Linked DNA regions of Homo sapiens: region 2 is linked to region 1. Evidence: promoter capture Hi-C in human tissues and cell types (Jung and others, 2019). All regions are on one chromosome and are shown on one strand. Each heading gives the region's core, a stretch centred on a gene start or on the middle of the fragment in contact. The rest is flanking DNA. Distances are from core to core; before and after follow the strand shown. Region 1 holds the start of DNAJC11 (DnaJ heat shock protein family (Hsp40) member C11). Region 2 overlaps DNAJC11 (DnaJ heat shock protein family (Hsp40) member C11).

Region 1 (7,485 bases), core at 3,085-5,584:
TTGTGTAGAGTTGGGGGTTTCACCATGTGGCCCAGGCTTGTCTTGAACTCCTGGGCTCAAGAGATCTGACCACCTTGGCCTCCCAAAGTGATGTGATTACAGGCATGAGCCACTGCACCCAGTCCTTGGTATACTTATACTAAAAAATTCTTCATTGTTCATCTAAAATGCAAATATAGCTGAGCATAGTGTATTTCATCTGGCAACCTACCTCCAGTGCTATAGGGAGGGTCCCAGAACTGGACTGAGCCATTAACAGAGAAACCTTCCTGAGCGGCTACACAGAGTAGCTGTGCTGGAAGCCAAAATGTTTTGGGGTCATTCTGCATATGAATCATGGTGGAGGTAAATATTCTTATGTTTACTATTTAAAGATGGGGCCGGGTATGCTAGCTCAAGCCTGTAATCCCAGCACTTTGGGAGGCCGAGGCAGGCGGATCACCTGAGGTCAGGGGTTTGAGACCAGCCTGGCTAACATGGCGAAACCCCCATCTCTACTAAAAATACAAAAATTAGCTGGGCATGGTGGCAGGCGCCTGTAATCCCAGCTACTTGGGAGGTAGAGGCAGGAGAATCGCTTGAACCCAGGAAGCCAAGGTTGCAGTGAGCCAAGACTGTGCCACTGCACTCCAGCCTGAGAGACAGAGTGAGACTCCACCTTAAAAAAAAAAAATTGGCTGGGTGCAGTGGCTCACACCTGTAATCCCAGCACTTTGGGTGGCCAAGGTGATCAGATCACTTGAGGTCAGGAGTTCAAGACCAGCCTGTCCAACATGGCAAAACCCTGTCTTTACTAAAAATACAAAAATTAGCTGGGCGTGGTGGCACATGCCTGTAATCCCATCTACTCGGGAGGCTGAGGTATGAGAATCACTTGAACCCAGGAGGTGGAGGTTGTGGTGAGCAGAGATCATGTCACTGCACTCCAGCCTGGGCAACAGAGTGAGACTCTGTCTCAAAAGAATAAATAAAATAAAGATGAGAGAATTTGTTAGCAGTTGCATAAATGCGTATATCTCATATAATATTTGCGTAAATATAAAATACATATGCCCATGTATGTATAGTTACATAAATATATTACATCAGTTTATATTTAAATGTCACCTATTAAGTTTTGCTTTACAGCTATGTTACAGACTGTTTTGTGGTTTCACCCAACAAAAAGAAACCAAAAGGCCAGGCACGGTGGCTCACACCTGTCATCTCAGCACTTTGAGAGGCTGAGGCGGGCAGATCACTTGAGACGGGAGTTCCAGACCAGCCCTGCAATGTAGCAAGACCCTGTCTCTACAAAAAATACAAAGCTTAACCAGGTATGGTGGCGGGCACCTGTAGTCCTAGCTACTATGGAGGCTGAGGTGGGAGAATTACCTAAGCTTGAAGAGGTGGAGGCTGCAGCAAGCCATGATTGCACCACTGTACTGCAGCCTGGGTGACAGAGGGAGACCCCGTCTCAAAAAAAAAAAAAAGAAAGAGAAAAGAAAAAGAAAACAAAGTGCAAGGCATGAGTTAAAGCAGCTGGGTTTTGTCAGTTGCTCGGCGTAAGTAGTTTGTTGGATGTGCGTTTTTAACTTATAAATTTGTACTGCCTTTGGTTTCCATTATTTTGCCCGTTGAAGATTAGGGTTTTGGAGGAGAGAAACGAGAGAGCCAGCCTCAGAAACAGATACATTCCTCAAGCCTGTGGAGCATCTAAGTTAGCTTTCTATTTATCACCACCACTTTCCAAGTAACCATAACACAAAATCTCGTGGGCCCAAGAGAGGACAGCCACAGAGCATTCCTGAGTCACTATTTATCTTGTTTGAGTGGTGATAAAAACCAGGTCATTCTCAATCATAGAAACACAGACCTGGGCGTAGTGAAACATATGTTATGTTCCATTTATATAATTCCTAGAGGCTGTGTTTTCCAAAGCAGAGGAGGGATGGCAAAGAACTTCTCTACCCAAGTAAGCATTATGGCCCAATTAATGTCTACAAACCTAAGGAGGCCGGGCGCGGTGGCTCACGCCTGTAATCCCAGCACTTTGGGAGGCCGAGGCAGGTGGATTACTAGGTCAGGAGACCAAGACCATCCTGGCTAACATGGTGAAACCCCATCTCTATTAAAAATACAAAAAAAAAAAATTAGCCAGGCGTGGTGGCAGGCGCCTGTAGTCCCAGCTACTCAGTAGGCTGAGGCAGGAGAATGGCATGAACCCGGGAGGTGGAGCTTGCAGTGAGCCGAGATCGTGCCACTGCACTCCAGCCTGGGCGACAGAGCGAGACTCCATCTCAAAAAAAAAAGAAAAAAGAAAAAAGAAAAAAAAACCTAAGGGAAAAAGGAATGTCTCCACATTGTTGTTTTTACCCCCAGTCTCTCTGTATGAAATTCTTGGCCGGGTGCGGTGGCTCACGCCTGTAATCCCAGCACTTTGGGAGGCCGAGGCAGGTGGATCACGAGGTCAGGAGTTCGAGACCAGCCTGGCCAATATGGTGAAACCCCGTCTCTACTAAAAATACAAAAATTAGCTGGGCGTGATGGCGCACGCCTGTAGTCCCAGCTGCTTGGGAGGCTGAGGCAGGAGAATCGCTTGAACCCGGGAGGCGGAGGTTGCAGTGAGCCAAGATCGTGGCACTGCACTCCAGCCTGGGCGACCGAGTGAGACTCTGTCTCAAACAAAAAAAAAAAAAAAGAAAGAAATTCTTAAAGACTGTCAAATGTCAGCATGCAGTTTGGCCCTAACCACAGCTCTTTTCTCTGCAAAGGAGAAAAAGGCAAAGCCCATAACATTGCTGGAAGAGCTGATGGACCATGGAAGCTGTTGTGGAGAAGCTTCACACAACTAAAGAAATAGCCCTTAATTTACAACCTGGGCTGACAGTTTGTTTCAGGCTGACTCAACCCACCCGAACAATCTGTCTCAGCACACCGAAGTGTCTCATGCCAAAAGATCCTAAGAGGGCTGGGCAACTTGGAAGGGATGAGACACAGGCCCAGATGGTGCACATCTGGCCAAAAATTAGAAAGAGAAAGAAATCAGCCTCTCAAATCCACAGACAGGTGTTCGGGGCTTCCCAGGAGACCTGCTTATGAAGGGCAACGGGGATGGCTATGGACTGGTGGTTAGTGAAGGAACAACAAAGGTTTCTGAGACTTGCGCAGGTCAGCGGGAACCAAACAGGTGGCAAGAGTGGGCTGCTGTCCACCTTCCCTTGACAATGGCGTCATTTCGAAGACCTTTAAATTATTTAGATTGTTGTAACCAAGACATCTTTAATAATGCACCAAACAGCAGGCACCAGGTTGAAATCAATTAGACTCCACCGATAAATTATAAGGGAGAAATTTACAGGAGAATGGCTCTGGGGTAGGGACTGCAGGTACACATGCCTGCCAGAGACAATTATATCAGGAACCAAATAGTTATTGCTTTGTCATTTAAGCAGCAGAAAAGATGGCCAGGTGCTCCTAAATTAGAGCAATAACAAATAACTAAAATGAGGAGGCCTGTTCTGGGCAGGAAGGCTTCTGGGTGGCCAAGAGAAAAGACAATGGAGGTAGGAACAAATGTCATTTGGGGGATATCTAGGATCCGGATGCACCCTGCACTGGGGGCACCTCGCGCTTCTTCCAGGAGTTTGGGGCCAGTGGGGTAACAGGTGGTATCACAGGGGTTTGTCTCCCAGAGGATGACAATCTCCTGGAGGTGACTTCAAAGTTTCCCTTTCTAGGCAGGACGCGGTGGCTCATGCCTGTAATCCCAGCACTTTGGGAGGCCGAGGATCTCCTGAGTTCAGGAGCCTCAGACCAGCCTGGCCAACATGGTGAAACCGTGTCTCTACCAAAAATACAAAAAAATTAACTGGGCGTGGTGGCGCGCGCCTGGAGTCCCAGCTACTCGGGAGGCTGAGGCAGGAGAATCGCTTGAACCCGGGAGGTGGAGGCTTCAGTGAGCCGGGATTGCGCCACTGCACACACACCAGGCTGGGCGACAGAGTATGACTCCGTCTCAAAAAAAAAAAAAAAAAGCAAAGTTTCCCTTTCTAGTACAGGAAAAGCCCTAGGGAGTCCTGGCTGGATCTCAGGCCCCCGAGGACGCAGCCACGCCGCGTGCCACGCGTCCATTGGGAGCACGAAGAGACACCCGCGTGGTCACCCCGCCAGGGCTGCCTAGGCGCCGCGTCCCGCCCTAGGCCGCGCGGGGGCGCAAAGCGCAGGCGCACTCCCGCCGGGCGCGGACGGCTCCGGGCCGCCAGGGGCCGCTGTGGCGCAGCCGGGCTGGCCCGCGCTGTCCCTGACGCGGATCACTGGCCCCTCTTGAGCACGGCCTTGCCGGTTTGGCGGGGTGAAAGGTTGCGAAGATGGCGACGGCCTTGAGCGAGGAGGAGCTGGACAATGAAGACTATTACTCGTTGCTGAACGTGCGCAGGGAGGTGAGGCCAGCGGCTGGACGCTCTGGGGGCTGAGGCCGAGCCCGGTCGTTCGGGAGGGCCGGGCTGGCGGTGGCCGCCCCACCCCCGCCACGGGAGGCTCGGGTCCGTCGGGGAGGCCGCGTGACCCCGGCGACGTGCACGCCAGCCGCCCGATGGAGGCGTCCCCACCGCCCAGACCCTCCCGCCGGGGGTTCCGGGGCCAGCCTCCGCCCCAGCTCCTGAAGGCCAGTGCGCCGCGTGCACTGTGTCCGGGTAGGGCCAGAGGCCCCCGCACGCTCAAGAGGAAACGGGGGCCCCGAGGAGGCCACCGTAGTGGGGTTAGCAGTCCTCCGAGACCCCGTCTCGCGCTCAGCCCACATACTCGTCCTGGCTGAGGGGCTGTGTCATCGCCCGCCGCCAGCAGGATGGCGAACTGAGTCTCACCCACCAAGGTCAAGGCCACTAGGGAACGTCCTTAGGGCTTTTTCCGGTTCCCGAGTCTTTCGTGGGGACGCTCTGCCTCTGAAGTGGGTCCAGCCTCAGAGGCATGCGTCTCATGCCCTCTTTCATTCCCCTGGACCCGATGTCCAGAAATTGCAGGCAGAGCCTCCGGGACACAGACCCTCGGCTCGGAGGCTGCAGATTAGGAAGAAGCCCTAGGCCAGAAAAGTGGTGCCCTAACAACAGCTTCAACATTCACACCAAGCACTTGTACCCTGTCTCCTCAACGAATAAAAGATAACATGAGAGAGTCTCACATAGCCTGGCAGTAGTAGGGCCCCACTACACTCCTTTGTTCTTGACTAGTCTGGAGTTGAGATAGGTGTGAAGGGCGAGAAGGCTTCCAGGGTCAGGTCATGAGGTGGATCAGTTTCTTTAAGCCGATGGGTCCAGACTTTTCAGCCCTGCCAGAGAATTCCTAATTCCATCTCTCAGGTTTTCCAGTGGTAATGAAAGCTAGCCAAGTTTGGCTATGCTAACCAAAGCGGGTTCAGTGTGTGTTGTCAGTAAATATTAGTCTATGTGATGTTAATAATACAAACTTATCTTGTGTGGGACCACTATGCTGAATGAACTTTGTACTGTTATCTCATTTAATTCTGAGGATAGCTCTTAAGGTAAGTATTATGATAGCCCTTGATTTACACTTGAGGAAACCAAGGCATAGAGAGATTAAGTAGTGTGTCTAAAGTCACACTACTAGAAAGTGCAAGAGCCTGAACTCAACCCAGGCAGTCTGACTCTGGAGCCCAGCTTGTGAGCTCCATGCTAGTCTGTCACCTTACCTTACCAGTCCTTGGACTACAAAGCTGCTAGTTCTGGTACTGTATCCTTGAGTGTCACGCGCGTCCGTGTGAAGAGACCACCAAACAGGCTTTGTGTGAGCAATAAACCTTTTTAATCACCTGGGTGCGTATGGGCTGAGTCCGAAAAGAGAGTCAGCAAAGGGTGGTGGGATTATCATTAGTTCTTATAGGTTTGGGATAGGCGGTGGAGTTAGGAGCAATTTTTTGTGGGCAGGGGGTGGATCTCACAAAGTACATTCTCAAGAGTGGGGAGAATATTACAAAGTACCTTCTTAAGGGCGGAATATCACAAAGTACATTATCACAAGGGCGGGGAGCGTGTATTGTCATAAGGCCAATTGACCAGTTAGGGTGGGGCAGGAGTAAATCACCATGGTGGAATATCTTCAGTTAAGGCAGGACCTGGCTATTTTCACTTCTTTTGTGGATCTTCAGTTGCTTCAGGCCATCTGGATGTATATGTGCAGGTCATAGGGGATATGATGGCTTAGCTTGGGCTCAGAGGCTTGATACTGAGCACCTCATGAAAGAATCCCTCGAATGTATGGGCCACTGTACTATGAGAATGTCCAGTGAAATATCTTTGGGAATTGCAGATTTTGTTAGGCTGCCATAGGGCACCTGGGGGTTCTTGTTCTCATTAATCAACACTTCGGGCTAATCACTCCTTTTTTTCCTTTTTTTTTTAAATTATACTTTAAGTTCCAGGATACATGTGCAGAACGTGCAGGTTTGTTACATAGGTAAACATGAGCCATGGTGGTTTGCTGCACCCATCAACCCATCATCTAGGTTTTAATGGGCTAATCACTTATTTAGCCTTAAGTCTCTTTCCCTTTAAATGAAGATGTCTGGCTAGTTATACTTTTTTTCCAGTTTTTAGAAGTCAAGCAATAAATGAAGCCAGCCTTTCTGAAATCATTCGTACTTAGTCTGGGTTGTCAGTAATTGAGCAGCCATTTATCAGGCGTACTGAACCGTAGGCAGCTGCTGCAGATGATCAAGCAGGTCTAGAGTAATAGTTTTAGCCAGAGTCCTAGGTGAAGATTTTGTCAAAGGTATACCTTGAAACTGCTGAAACTGTAGAGCCTGTCATTGTTTTTGGACTTACGGATGGGAGCCAAAGAAATTTTGTTTGTTTGTTTAGAGACAGGGTCTCACTCTGTTGCCCAGGCTGAAGTGCAGAGGTGGATCATGGTGCACTGCAACCTTGACTTCCCCGGGCTCAGGTGCTCCCACCTCAGACTCGCTAGTAGCTAGGACCACAGGCACATGCCACCATACCCAGCTAATTTTTGTATCTTTTGTAGAGACAGGGTCTCTCTGTGTTGCCCAGGTTGGTCTCCTGAGCTCAAGCGATCCTCCCACCTCTGCCTCCCAAAGTGCCGGGATTACAGGCATGAACCACCATGCCTGGCCAGGCCTGTCACTGTTATTAGACTTAAGGATGAAGTATATATAAAAACATAGATATAAATATTTATATATAAATATATATATTTATATATATAATTAGACTTCACCCAGGCTGGAGTGCAGTGGTGCAGTCGTGGCTCATAGCAGCCTCGACCTTCCCCGGCTCAGGTGATCCTCCCACCTCAGCCACCAGAGTAGCTGGTATTACAGGCACACACCACCACAGCTGGCTGATTTTTGTAGTTTTTGTAGAGACAGGGTCTCACTGTGTTGCCCAGGCTGGTCTCAAACTCCTGAGCTCAAGCAGTCCACCCATCTCAGCCTCCCAAAGTGCTGGGATTACAGGCATGAGCCACTGCACC
Region 2 (6,948 bases), core at 838-3,337, 40 kb after region 1:
TGTAAAATCCCCAGCCCCGGCGTGTGTCCACTTTGCCTGCTGGCTCCAGCTGATGAAACACGTGCATGCACACACACACACACATGCAGGAACACAGGCACATCCATGGGAGGCAGCATGGGAGAGCCTTGGACTTGGTGTCCAGGGCCCTGCGTCCAGACTCAGATTCCACCTTCCTGTCTGTGCCCTTGATCAAGTCCCTTCTGCATTCTTAGTCCAGTTTCTGCCTCCATGAAATGGGAGGCCCGCTTTCTGGGTTGAGTCTTTGGACCCCACAGTCCTTAGCTCTAATCACCTGTTTTCTGCCTTTGCTTTGCCCTGTGGGAGTAAATTCCTGTCTGTATGTCCTGCTGGAAAAAGCCACCCTTGGGTTGCTGGGGTCCCAGTGTCTTTAGGGCCCTCCACATTGAACTGGCGTCAGGGAGAGAATTGGTGGCTGGGCAGGACGTGGGTTCATACCTGAGAGCAGTATGCGAAACTAGACCTGACTGGACCACCCTGGGCATCCTCCTGCCATCTTCGGATTTCTGTTTTATTTGCATAATCCATCCGCATTTCTTGCATTTTAAGGACTTAAGATCATGTAACAGTGTCGTTCTGTGTTGTATTCACTTCGTATTGATTATTTTAATTCCTTTTTTCCTTAATACCCATAAATCTTCTCCCTCTGTGGAGGGCAGCCACTTTGAGCATATTTAGAAGGCAACTTGATCCCAGGCAGCTTGTCCGACTTCATTGCTGCCTCCTTCGTGATCTTGTTTAGATCCTGTGTGGAGCAGATGATTAAGTTAGGTTTGTTTGGGGGTGTGGGGGCAAAGGAGTTTGACTGTCTCTGCGGGCATATATTGCTTTAGTTTTTTTGACCCTATGACAAAATAGTTTGATGGAGATTTACATTATTTCCTGGCCATTTTTGCTATTACAGAGGTTGATATACACTCTTTGGCAAGACCTCTCTGATCTAGAAAACTCCATCATCAGCATGGTTTGTGTAATAGCTGAGAGACACAATTCAGCTTTATTAGAAAAAAATGTAAATGATGTATCGGCCAGGCATGGGGGCTCACACCTGTAATCCCAATATGTCCAGAGTTCATTCCTTTTGGTGGGTTCATGGTCTCACTGACTTCAACAATGAAGCCATGGACCTTCGCGGTGAGTGTTACCTTAAAGGTGGTGCGGACCCAGAGTGAGCAGCAGCAAGATTTATTGTGGAGAGCAAAATAACAAAGCTTCCACAGTGTGGAAGGGGACCCGAGCAGGTTGTTGCTGGCTGGGGTGGCCAGCTTTTATTCCCTTATTTGTCCCTGCCTATGTCCTGCTGATTGGTCCATTTTACAGAGTGCCGGTTGGTCCATTTACAGAGTGCTGATTAGTGCACTTACAATACTCTAGCTAGCCACAGAGCACTAATTGGTGCTTTTTACAGCGAGCTGATTGGTGCATTTACAATCCTCTAGCTAGCCACAGAGCACTGATTGGTGCGTTTTTACAGAGTGCTGATTGGTACATTTACAACCCTCTAGCGACAGAGCGCTGATTGGTGCGTTTTTACAGAGTGCTGATTGGTAACATTTGTAAGACAGAAAAGTTCTCCAAGTCCCCACCTGACCCAGGAAGTCCAGCTGGCTTCACCTCTCACCAACACTTTGGGAGGCTGAGGTGGGTGGATCATCTGAGGTCAGGAGTTTGAGACCAGCCTGACCAACATGGTGAAACCCCATCTCTACTAAAAATACAAAAATTAGCCAGGCGTGGTGGCAGGCGCCTGTAATCCAAGCTGCTTGGGAGGCTGAAGCAGGAGAATCACTTGAACCTGGGAGGCGGGGGTTGCAGTGAGCCGAGATCGCGCCACTGCACTCCAGCCTGAGCAACAAGCTCAAGACTCCGTTTCTAAATAAATAAATAAAAATAATGTAGCAAGAGCCTGGGCAACATGGTGAAATCCTATCTCTACAAAAAAAAAAAACAAAAAACAAAAAACAATTAACTGGGCATGGTGGCGTGCTCCTGTAGTCCCAGCTACTCGGGAGGCTGAGGCAGGAGGAATGCTTGAGCCCTGGAGGTGGAGGTTGCAGTAAGCCAGGATCGTGCCAGCCTGGCTCCAGCCTTCAAGATGTACTCCAGCCTGGGTGACAGAGAGAGACCCCATCTGAATAACGTATCAAGGAAGGCATGTAACCATAAAAATATTTTTAAATGCCAAAATGTTTTCATAAAGATGTAAGCGTGCATCACTTGATTATTTTTAAAGGATGTTGGGGTTGCCCTGGCTAATAACCGTAGCCAGCAAAGTCGCCCATGGTTATGACTTCAGTCTGTTCTGCAGAAGTGATTCTGATGTCATGAAACTGCCTGGACTTGGCTGAGAGGATGATGGGGCAGAAGAAGGGTTGTTTAAGCCATATGTTTGTTGTGCGTAGTGGCAGGAAGGGGCAATTTACCGTCTGCAGAAATGGGCTGCTGTTGCAATTGGAGAACGTGAGAAGTTGTCTTGTAAGGAGAAAAGGGACCAGAGCCTGGTTAATCAGGTCTGGGAAAGCACTGTGATAATGAAACTGAAACCCTGGAGAAGAAGAGTGGTCTTGGCAATCGGGATAGAAGGCATAGAGGGATTCAAAGGTAAAACAGCTGTTTGTCTTGAAATGAGTATCCGTCGGAGGGCTGTTTTCACCCCCTCATGTCAGCATAATCGCTCACAAACAAGGTTTCAGAATTAAAGACTACTGTTTATACGGGGAGGACAGGCTCTGACTTCCATTTGAGATAAAGTGATTCTGTGGGAAGCGTCATGAGTGCCATGCTGGGTTCACCAGTTATAAAACAGGTGAATTTCACATTGCCTCGTATCACCTCTTTTGGTGGAATTTTCAGTTAGTAAAGAGTTCCTTTTGAGATTGCAGTTGACAGAAATTTCTTATGTTACCCTCATGGCCAGATAAATATAAACATGAAAATCATTCCACCTGGGTGGTGGTGAATGTGTTAACGTGATTGTGACCATCACTACACAGTGTCTGCGTGGATCAAATCAGCACACTGTACACCTGGCACGTGTGCAGTCTCTATTTGTCAGTTAAATGTTTTACATGTTTTTAAGAAGATTTGAAACCAAAAAATAAAGAATTTAGAATGGTACATTCCTGGCTGAATAAACAACTGATTCTACTCAACGAGTACAAATACATCATTTCCTACCTGGTAAGAAGTTTCTCATTGTGGGAGAAAGGCTGTAACTCAGGCTCAGAATTTCTGAGTGATGTCAGTGAAGACGTGTTTATCACATTCACAGTTGACCCAAGGCAGAAGGTTCTAAAAGAGCCCAGTGAACAAGAATGAAGGGATTAAACTGCAAAATAACATTTAACAGGGAGAAATGTGCTAGCTACGAAAGGGGGGAATCAGGGAAAATGGTCATCTTTCGTTGACTTGGTTTAATATTAGCAATTTTGTGGGTTGGAGGTGGGTAAAAATGGTTGATTTATTCGCAAAGTAATTTAATTTGGGTGCCTGTAATGTGCCAGACACTTTAGGAATGTGAACATTCCGCAGAGAATAAAACAGACAACCTAATCCTGCCATGAAGCTGAATAATCTAGTTGAGGGACAGAGAAGCTGCAGTAAATGCAATATATAAATTATATATTAAGACTGGGCGTGGTGGCTCATGCCTGTAATCCCAGCACTTGGGCAGGCCGAGGCAGGCAGATCATCTAGGTCAGGAGTTCAAGACCAGCCTGGCCAACATGGCAAAACCGCGTCTCTACTAAAAATACAAAAATTAGCCGGGCTTGGTGACGTGCTCCTGTAGTCACAGCTATTTGGGAGGCTAAGGCAGGAGAATCACTTGAACCTGGGAGGCAGAGGTTGCAGTGAGCTGAGATCTCGCCACTGCACTCCAGCCTGGGCAACAGAGTGAGATTCTGTCTCAAAAAAAAAAAAATTATATATTAGAAGGAGAGAGAAATGATGTGGGGGGTACATAAAGCGAAGGAAGTGGGGAAGGCTGCAGTTTTTTTGTTTTGATTTTGGTTTTTTTTTTTGTTTTTGAGACAGAGTCTTGCTCTGTTGCCCAGGCTGGAGTGCAGTGGCGCAATCTCGGCTCACTGCAAGCTCCGCCTCCCGGGTTCATGCCATTCTCCTGCCTCAGCCTCCCGAGTAGCTGGAACTCCAGGCGCCTGCCACCACGCCCAGCTAATTTTTGTATTTTTAGTAGAGGCGGGGTTTCACCTTGTTAGCCAGGATGGTTTCGATCTCCTGACCTCGTGATCTGCCCGCCTCAGCCTCCCAAAGTGCTGGGATTACAGGCGTGAGCCACCGTGCCCGGCCTTGGTATTGTTTTTGAGACAGAGTTTCACTCTTGTTGCCCTGGCTGGAGTGCAGTGGCACTGTCCTGGCTCAGTGTAACCTCCACCTCCTGGATTCAAGCAATTCTTCTGCCTCAGCCTCCGAGTAGCTGGGACTACAGGTGCATGCCACCATGCCCGGCTCATGTTTTTGTGTTTTTAGTAGAGACGAGGTTTTACTATATTGGCCAGGCTGGTCTCAAACTCCTGACCTCAGGTGATCCACCCGCCGCGGCCTCCCAGAGCGCTGTGATTACAGGTGTGAGCCACCATGCCCAGCCTGCAGTTTTAATTAGAGTAGTCAGGCTTCACTGAAAAGGTGCCACTGGAGGAAGGATGGGAAGCAGATGACAAAGTTAGCCACGTGGCCATCTGGTGAAGAGTGTTGCAGATAGAGGGCAGAGCCAACGCAGAGGCCAAAATGGAGAGGTGAATCTGGTATGTTCAAGGAACAGCAAAGAGGCCAGTGTGTCTGGAACGATGAGAGAAGACATTAGTAGGAGTTGAAGACATTAGTAGGAGTTGAAGACATTCCATTTCCCCAATGTGAAATAGGGACCAGGCTTAATGTGTGATGGTTCAAGAGACAAGAACCAATAGCAACAAGTCAGTGTTACTGGGAGATGATTTGGGGTTAATATAAGGAACATTGAGCAAGTTGGGCTGCTGGGGACTCATGGAAACTGCTTTGATCCACTGTCTAGTCATGAACACAATGTGATGAGGACCTCTGTCTTCCAACAGGTAGCAGTGGGTGGGATGTGTATGTAATTTAAATAAAAACTAAGTCTTACAGACTATTTGCAGAGCCAGTGCAGGACTAGACCCAGGGCCGGCAGGCATTGCTCCTATCTGGGCTGTATTAACTTGGATCAGGAATTATAGGGGCCATTGATGACATCTGCTGGCCAGGGGGGCAGCAGTTGGCCTGTGAGTATTGATGTCATATGGTTATGTTGGTTCCTCCCAAGGGAGAAGCAGCTGAGGTTTACGGACACAAGAACTCTACTAATTTAAAAATAGGCCTATAAAGAATTTCTCTATAAAGTAAGTTTTTAGATAGCTTTTTGTTTGGAAGTCCTTAAGATATGGGGAATTTTTTTTTTCAATTTTTTTTGTCAGAGTAATATGTGTACAAGGTTCAAAAGTCAGGTATTTACTAGACTTATAAAGAAAAGCCCTGCCGCTCCCCGCTTTCTACTCCTGACTCCTGTTCCCTTAAGGCAGCCACTCCCAGCTCTTGGAGCTGTTTCTTCTGTCATGTTTACATGGTTCTCTCAGTTTCTTCAGTTTTCAGTCTACCCAGTGTAATTATAATTGGATTACATTAATATTCACTATATACATTGCGGTGACCATATAATTACTCAGTTGACCCAGATCATATACCAGGATTACCTAGCCTTTCTTAACACTTTTTCCTCTGTGTTATTAGTAATTGTCTCATTCGTTTCCTTTGATTAGTTTTCTGTAAATCTGTCACAAAGTCATCTCCAGACTCTCTTGTCAGAGCTGAAACGTTCCTCCCAGTTTCATTAGACGCTTCAGGTATTGTGTCACTCATTCTGATCTCAGTGGCATCCCGGAGCCCTCAGTCCCCAGATCCCGTCTGAAGGTGTCACTCCATTGCTGCAATCTCACGATCAAGCTGGAGCAGATGAGGAGTATCGATGCACAGAAATGGTGGTTTCTTGAGATGGAACCTAGTCCTGGTGAAGATTCTGTGATCACTGTTGAAATGACAACACAGGATTTGAAACATAAGTTAGCTGATAAACCTATTTTCACTTGGTTATCTTTAAATCCCAGAGTCTGGCTGGGCATGGGGGCTCACGCCTGTAATCCCAGCACTTTGGGAGGCCAAGGTGGGCAGATCACGAGGTCAGGAGATCGAGACCATCCTGGCTAACACGGTGAAACCCCGTCTCTACTAAAAATACAAAAAAATTAGCCGGGCGTGGTGGCAGGCGCCTGTAGTCCCAGCTACTCGGGAGGCTGAGGCAGGAGAATGGCGTGAACCCAGGAGGCAGAGCTTGCAGCGAGCCGAGATCGTGCCACTGCACTCCAGCCCAGGCGACAGAGCAAGACTCCATCTCAAAAAGAGTAGGAATCATTATTTGGGGCATGTATCTACAGACTTTAGTCTGTTCACCAACCCTGTCTATCTCCAGTATCAGTGGTCTGATTATGTGCTGCTGTATAACCATTTCCAAACTTGGTGGCTTCCAACAATAATTCCATACTGTCTCACAGTTCTGTGGATTGGCTGGGACTTGACTGTGATGGGATGGTGCTCACAGGGGTTGCAGTCAGATGGCAGCTGGGTCTCATCCTCAGAAGGCTGGCTGGTCTGCATGTCAGCAGTGGCTTCTGCATTCATGTCTCACACACCTCAGCGGAGGTGGCTGGCATCGCTGTCTCTCTAGGCAACCTCTCCCCGGGCCAGCTCAGGCTTCCTTGCCAACAGCAGTCTCTGGGTAGTTGGACTTAATACGTATTAGCTAGTGTCCCCCAGATAGTGCATTTTAGAGACCTGGGCCAAGCTGCAAGGCTTCTCGTGAGCTGGTCTTGAAGTCAGCACCATCACATCCACGCATTCTGT

What was found. Contacts are between HindIII fragments. The study calls those that stand out against the background at their distance.
Region 2: a contact is called between a fragment that was not itself captured here and the fragment with the promoter of DNAJC11 in region 1, in 1 of the 25 tissues and cell types used here (liver).

The regions. Positions count from the first base shown.
Region 1 is chr1:6,698,665-6,706,149 of GRCh38, reverse strand. DNAJC11 (DnaJ heat shock protein family (Hsp40) member C11) reads left to right here and starts at 4,334. Exons shown (of 16, transcript NM_018198.4): 1 at 4,334-4,421. The coding sequence starts at 4,350. RefSeq lists a silencer at 4,098-4,547. The HindIII fragment of the contact is 19,207 bases long and covers 2,101-7,485 here.
Region 2 is chr1:6,657,157-6,664,104 of GRCh38, reverse strand. The region is part of intron 4 of DNAJC11 (DnaJ heat shock protein family (Hsp40) member C11); the gene reads left to right. Among named protein-coding and RNA genes, the nearest start is that of THAP3, 36 kb to the right of the region's middle. The HindIII fragment of the contact is 5,021 bases long and covers 1-4,597 here.